2 separate regions of the Homo sapiens genome follow, and region 2 is linked to region 1. Evidence: promoter capture Hi-C in human tissues and cell types (Jung and others, 2019). All regions are on one chromosome and are shown on one strand. The core of a region is centred on a gene start or on the middle of the fragment in contact, and the rest is flanking DNA. Distances in the headings are between cores, read along the strand shown. Region 1 holds the start of TTC8 (tetratricopeptide repeat domain 8). Region 2 overlaps TTC8 (tetratricopeptide repeat domain 8).

What was found. Contacts are between HindIII fragments. The study calls those that stand out against the background at their distance.
Region 2: a contact is called between a fragment that was not itself captured here and the fragment with the promoter of TTC8 in region 1, in 2 of the 25 tissues and cell types used here (adrenal gland and aorta).

The regions. Positions count from the first base shown.
Region 1 is chr14:88,822,544-88,826,339 of GRCh38, reverse strand. It overlaps TTC8 (tetratricopeptide repeat domain 8), which reads right to left and starts at 1,689. Exons shown (of 15, transcript NM_144596.4): 1 at 1,519-1,689. The coding sequence starts at 1,632. RefSeq lists an enhancer at 1,678-2,037. The HindIII fragment of the contact is 5,735 bases long and covers 1-3,796 here.
Region 2 is chr14:88,865,874-88,869,734 of GRCh38, reverse strand. All of the region lies in intron 10 of TTC8 (tetratricopeptide repeat domain 8), which reads right to left. Among named protein-coding and RNA genes, the nearest start is that of TTC8, 43 kb to the right of the region's middle. The HindIII fragment of the contact is 3,687 bases long and covers 682-3,861 here.

The DNA of each region.
Region 1 (3,796 bases), core at 440-2,939:
GTATTTTTTTAAGCAATATCTATAAGATTACTATGCCAAAAACACATTTGGGGGCTGGGCGCGGTGGCTCATGCCTGTAATCCCAACACTTTGGGAGGCCGAGGCAGACGGATCACGAGGTCAGGAGTTCGAGACCACCCTGGCTAACACGGTGAAATCCCGTCTCTACTAAAAATACAAAAAAATTAGCCAGGCTTGGTGGCACGTAACTGTAGTCCCAGCTACTCGGTAGTCTGAGGCAGGAGAATCGCTTGAACCTGGGAGGCGGAGGTTGCAGACAGCCGAGATCGCGCCGTGCCACTGCACTCCAGCCTGGGCGACAGAGCGAGACTCCGTCTCAAAAAAAAATAAAAAAAAATAAAAAAAATTTAAAAAAACCTTGGAAAAATGCTTGTCTACAGAAATATAGTCCTATTAATTAATGTGAACTAACAACAGAACCTAGCTTTGTATTACCACTAACGTAGGCTGTTCTAAGAGAGATGTACTATCTGAAAGACAAAATGTTCATCTCAGCAGGTTATCATCCATCATCCATTTGCTGGGAGCTAAGGCAGAGCCTAGTAACAGCATTCACACTCAGGCCTCCGCTTTTGTAACTCCCTTCAATTTTCCATTTTTTCTAACATCTCCAAGGCAACACCACTAGAGGAAAAGCTAGGGAACTAGAACTACGTAGGTATATTCCGCACTTACTAAAAGCACTGACAAACTGCCGCAGCGCTACTTCTGTTCTCCCATTTTCTCCTTTTTTGCCTATTCCAGGAGCCACCTGCCCACCAGAATTGTACCGCTCACGTACATTGTATACTACCTTTTCCACTCGCTATACACATTACTCTAGTTTAAGTTCTCTTTTCATCAATGCCATCATTCCTTCTTGTAAGGAGCCTTTCTTTCCCATTTCTCCCTCCTACAATTAGAGCTTCCCTTGCCTAGGTAATTTTTTAAATAATGAATGTATCTTTCTCCCTCCTAGATTCTCATTCTTCTAATTTGCATATTTGCCTCAAGCTAAACTCATGGCCTCCTTCACTCTTGGACAACAGTCTAAAGATGAGGTGGGAGGATCACATGTTCGATCCAAAAGGAAGAAGGCAGCTATGTTAACAGGAGGTGGAGAGTCACAGATCTTTGTTTATGCATATTTTTTAGAAATTAACAACGCACACGCTGAGAGCTTAAAGCCCATCAATATGCAAGTATAAACGAATTATCAAAGTTCCTCGTCAAGTAAAGTTCAGGGCTCTCATTCTGGGACACGTATAGGGGAGGGGAGGCTGAAAATTGTGAGGAGGGGGCGGTCATGGCACAGAACTTGCTATCCCCGTGGACGTGGCGGACAGCGGACCCGCTAGTCACAGCTCCACAAGGTCTCGCTCCGGGCGCCTCCGAGGGCCGAACGGTCAGCCCCGCCTCGGGCCTTCCTCCCCGGCCTCCCAACCCGGGGCTGGGATATGCCCCAGACCCCGCAGCCTCAGCGTCAGGATGCACAGGCTGACGGGAGCTGGCCGGTACCTGGTCATAAGGGGACTTCTCCAGCATCTGCGTGCATAGATCGGCGCAGAGCTGGAACTTCCTGCGCCTAAAATAGCTCCAGGCCAGGAGCAGCGGCTCCATCTCCGAGCTCATGGCTGCCGGTGCGGCCAGCGAAGGCCCAGCGCTCCAGGAGAGAGGTGGGCGTGGAGTGAAGAGCTGGCGGCGTCCGACTCTGCCCGGCAACCCGCGACGGCTGGGGCCTTGTCCGAGAGGTGCCCGCAGCGCGCCTGAGAACAGGAAAAAGAAAAACAACCGCAAGCAGAACTCGGCTACAGGGCTTGCCTAAACTTGGTTGGAAAAAGATGTCTACTTTTAAAGGCTACAGGTTTCATTGATTTTGAAAAGAAGGCACCGCGGCTAAACAAAAAGGTAGTGAGTTAGACACCTGCCCCTGGGGTCCCCCACCCTCCCAGGAGGCGCAGCTGCCTAGCAACCGAATGCTCTGCCTGCCCTGCAGGTCCGGAAGAGTCCCTGGAGTTGATCTCTGTCTGGTGTCTGTCCTACTTCTTCCATTCGCTCGTTTCCATCCCTTTCGCTTTACCTTCCGATTCTAGAAATACAAACAAGTAAACAGCTTCCACAGTACCATCCACCCATCAAGACCTAAAGTCCTAAATCCTGAAATTGTCCGCTGTTTCTCGAGGTCCTTCCCACCGAATCTCAACATCTGAACTGCAAGTGGTTTGCTTTTACTCATTTTACAGATGAGAAACTGAGATAGACTCAGAGAAGAGAAATTATTAAAATTGCATTGAGTTAGGGAGCTGGAACTGCAATCTGGTTGACTACAAGTTGCTAATACATTTGTTAATTCGACTCACATGGTGATTCCGGATTGTAAATTGGTGACAGTTTTACCAAACTAGATAATGTGTGCAAAATAATAATAATAATAATAATAATAATAATTTTTAAAAGCTTTGTGAAACATCGTCTCCTGGCACTTGCTGTTTGGCAAGGGTTTACTTGTGCAGAGTGATTTCTTCAAACACAATTCTGACTTTTCTCTAGAAATTTGCACAGATGACAAATATGCTTAAAATTGCAATGGTTATGAAAAGAGAGGTGTGACCGGCTAAATCCAGGTAGGCTTTTCTCAAACCACTGGGGTCTGAGAAAACATTAGACATTCTATTTAATCCACATATTTATATTTTTCATAGGTATTAAAATGAAACTTATGCTTCTAAACTAAGAAATTTATTGTTACCTTTTATTCTCTACTAAGCAGTCTTTCTTGAATTGTTGTATTTTGGAAGTCAGTAATTATCAGGATTGTCATTGTTACAGTTAAGTGTATTGTCATTAGTCTATTTGTGTTCTCCTGGAACTGCCGGTAGAAATGTAATCTCCCTAAAGGTCCTAATGAAGCAGCCCATGGTTTCTGAGTGTCAAATTTTTAAGAACGCACATGCCGACAATTGACAATTGGGCTCAATATTTCACAGCGTCTTTTTGTTTTCTGGTACACTGTAAGCAGATTACTATGTAAGTGATTTTCAACCCTACTAGAGAAAGTGAAGCACAGAGAAACCCTTTAAAAGGGTCAGTTTCACAAATGATGCTAGATCTCAGTTCATAGATCCTTATCTTTTACTCTCTAGCATATAGTCAGATGTTCTAAATAAACTTTTTTAAAGAATAGTTTTCGATTTACAGAAAAGTCACAAAAATAGTAGACAGTTCCCATATACCCAGTTTCTCTATTGTGTGAGATGTTGACATTTGTTTTAGTGTAAGATGATACATTTGTTACAACTAAGGAATCAACAATGGTACATTACTATTAAATAAACTCCACAGTTTATTTGGATTTCAGTAGTTTTCCCTTAATGTTATTTCTCTATTCCAGGATCTCACTTAGGGTACCACATAACATTCGGTTATCATGTCTCCTTCACCTCCTCTGACACTGTGGCAGTTTTTTAGACATTCCTTGTTTATGATGACCTTGACAGTGTTGAAAAGTGCTGGTCAAGTATTTTGTAGAATATCTGAGAAGTTCTTAAAAATAGAGATGTCCCAATTCCAGCCCTAGAAATATTGACTTAAATTGTTTGAGGTAGGACTGGGGCATCGGTTTTGTTTTTTTAAGTGTCTCAGGTGATTCTGATGGGTAGCCAGGATTAATCACCCACTACATTGAGTTCTAGTCATGTATCTATTGAGATTATTGCCAACTTCCTACAGAGAAACACTATTTACATAAGTGGGGAAATAAACATGCCAATAAACATATAAATAAATGTGGAACAAA
Region 2 (3,861 bases), core at 1,276-3,775, 43 kb before region 1:
CTATTTGAAAAGACCTGAGTGAAGTGAAGGATCAAGCCCTGAGCATATCTGGGGGAAGCTCACTCTGGGCAGAGGGAAGAGCAAATGTATGAGCCTGAGAGGGGAACGTGCTTGTCACATATGAAGAACCACACGAAGGTAAATGAGGCTGGGAAGAGGGAAAGTGGCACAAAAGGAGATGAGAGGCAGCCAGGGCCTTTGTAAGCCACGGTGAGAACTTCAGATTTTTTTTTTTCTAGTTGAGAGAAATCCATTAGGAGAGGAATAACAATCATATTTGCATTTTGAAAGAATAACTTGACTGCTGCATGCTAGACATACCAAAATAGGAAAGAGTGGTAGCAGGAAGATCAAAAGTCCAGGAAAGAAAAGACAGCAACCAAGACCAAGCTTAGAAATACATACAAAATGAAAAACTAAATAAACCTTCTACAGTTATTATATATTCTTTCTAAAATACTGATAATCATAAATGTATGCATCTAATGTTATCAATGAATGTTATATTTCTCAAGTCCACCTTCAAGGCCCTGTTCAGGCTCCACATCCTTCATGAAGATTTCCCTAATGCCTTCACTTCACATAGCTGTCTTCTACCTCTCAACTTACATGGTGTTTATTATGTGAACTTGTTCTCATTAGAGAAGGACTCATACTTTTCATTAAATTTTAATCATATCAAATATAAGAGACTCTACTGATTGTTAAGAAGCACCATGCAGTGCTTTTTTTAAACAGAATTTTTATTTGATCCTCACTGATATTTAGACATACTCATACACAGATTGCATCACAGATCACTCTTTTGCATACTTTGTGGTAAGAACATTTAAAATCCACTTTTAATATTTCTTAAAAGTGCTCCACTATTGTCTCCAAGATTTTCTTCCAACCTATGGACAGTCATTCTGCTATGCTGATACCTGTGTTTTCTTGATTTTCTTGATCTTACCAGCAGGTGTCAACAAAAGCTTTCAGGCTACAACCAGTAATAATTACCAGGTTCACCATGCTCCCAAGAGTAATTACCCAAGTTTCCATATAAACAGACTATGACAACTACATGGCAACTGCCACTTGGCCATAAAAAGATGCTATCCATTTTAAGATGTATCTCAAGTTCAGAGATGTTAAAATGTGAAAAAAAATGTGTTTTTAGAGTCCATGAAATATGGTAAATTCCTTTAAAGCAAGATCATATGTGCCATTTCTTAGCACAAAATTTAGTGTTCTAGAAACTGAAAAATTAATAAACAAGAATTAAACAACTCTAAAAAATGTTCTTAGCTTCCCATGTTTCCATTAGAACAGAGGTTCTCAAACGTTTTGGTCTAAGATTCCTTTTAAACTGTTAAAAATTGCTGAGAAGAAGTTTTGTTTATGTAAGTTATATAGATTAATATTAGAAATTGCAACTGAGCTATCTTTAAACATTTACTTATTAATTCATTCTAAATAACACAAAATAAACCTATTACATGTTCACATACATAACATTTTTATGAAAAATAATAAGCTCTTCTGAGTGGAGAAAGTCTGTAGGTTGGTACAACTATGTTTGTGACAGGGTAGATTAGTCTGTTTAACCCAGAGCGAGAAGGTTGTTAAGTCCTTTTGAGCATAGGTCTAAAGCCAAAAGCTCCACTTCTGCTTTTATCTGTAATCAAGCTAATGGTCTGACCTCTATTTGTCGAAATCTTGTATCTCTCTCTCAGTTGGTTCTCAACATGGAGAACAGGGATGTAACTTATCAGTCCCATAAAACCCTAACAAAACATTCACCAGTTGACCCAAATCTATGTTTTATATATATTTCTTCATGTGCTTTATATTTGAAATTCTTTTTCAAAGCCAACAGCATCCCACAGTGCTAGGCTTCAGTGTTACAGCTTCCAAAGGTGGCAACGCCCAATGCAAAGAAGGCTCAAGCCTCAATAAGCCAGTTGGTTCAAGACTTTGGGTTCTATAAAATTACTTTTGAATACTTGTATACTTAATTAATGGACACAGAAATTAATTTATGTAATCTCGAGGAATTTTAGACTGAAACACCTATTGTACTGACAACCTCGTATGTAGGTTTTCAATTAAGTTTTATAAACTTATAAAATATGTGCTTATACTAAATAAATGTAAACCTTACAAAACGGTACAAAATTAAAAGTAAATGCCCCATCCCCAAATTGTAGTAGGCAGAGGCTCTGTTAATAGCTTCTTGAGTATTGTTCAGGAAATTTTGTTCATACATAAGCATACATATGGGTGTGCATATTTTAACCATAAACAGAATCATTCTATACATTCTAATATACAGTTTATTTTTTCACTCTCAGTGTCTTGACTCTTTCCATATCAAAACCAAAAGCTTTACTTCATATTTTTAAATAATACTTCTGCATAGTGTTCCATCAATACAGAGACCATAATTTATTAAACCAGTCCCTTTTTGTTCAAGCATATGTTTCCTTTTTTTAACCAAAAAACATGCTATAAAAACATCTTTGTACAGATCTTTGTGCACTTGTATGAAAATATCCTTAAGGAAAATTCCTAGAAGTAATATGGCCAGGTCAAAGAGCATGCACATTTTAAAATATCATCAATAATTGCAAACAACTTCCAAATGTTCATACATGGAGCTTGTTTCTCTACACCCTTGGCAACCCTAGATAACATAGAACTTCTTCATCTTTGCTGATCTGATTGAGTGAAAAATGGCTTATCACTGTTGTTTTAGTTTTTTATATCTTTAATTATGACAGAGGTTAGGCATTTAACACATCAGATATTATTTATATTTCTCTTTCAGTGAACTGCCAATTCATATTTTTTGTCTGTTCTTCTATCCTATCCTATCTTTTGTCCCTCCACGATTGTGTGTATGGGAGTCTTGGGTGGAACACTGCCCTCCTGGACACAGGAGAGCTGGAGGCTGAGGTGTGGCTCAAGAATCCCTGGGCACTGACTGTGTTCTATTCCAGATGAAAAGAGCCCGTGTTGATGTTGACCATAGTTCAACAACACAGGAAGGCTCAGTGTTTATAAACATTCTCTTCAGAGGAAAAGTATAGATGGTTAATTAAGTTCTTCCAAATAGGTGTCACCAAGCCCTAAGTACAAAAGGGGGGCGGTATAGTCAATGCAGCTGGAACTTGGTTGTTGTCTCATCTCTGTGGTGATTTTACTTTCACAGAGAGGGTCAATGGCCACTGTGTAGGCTGAAAGGAAACAAGAGCCTAAGGAAAAGCCACACCATGACATGGAAATACCTCGTTTCCATGTTTACATTCTTGACTAAATAGATGAGAATTTGTGTGTGCGTGTGTGTGTGTGTGTGTGTGTGTGTGTGTGTTTAAATCTCCCATTTTCAGCAATTTTTAAGCAATGTGTAGTTTGAGGAAATCAAAAGCAGTCTTTTGTCTGTCCCAGGTATGCCAACTATTTTCCCTGTTTGATATTTTTATCTTTTGTTTTGTTGTATATGGGTTTGGTTTCTATTTTTTGTTTTTGCCATTTAGAAAATTTAACTTTTACATTCTCAAATTTATCAATCTTTGCTATTATGGCTTTTTGACTTTGTGTCATGATTAGAAAAATCGTCCTCATTCCAATTTATACAAATAATTCATCTGTGTTTTCTTCTGGAACTTTCAGGGTATCATTTTTTGAAGTTTTAAATTTTTAAAGTTTTAAATCTGGCAGTAATTAATAGTATAAATCATTACTCATCCAGCTCTATTTTTAAACTATTTATTAAATAACCAAGTAATGCAATTGGCTTAATAGGCTATCTTTCTCACATCTTAAATTTTCATATATATGAACACACATTGACTCTATTTTCTTTATTCCTTTATCAGA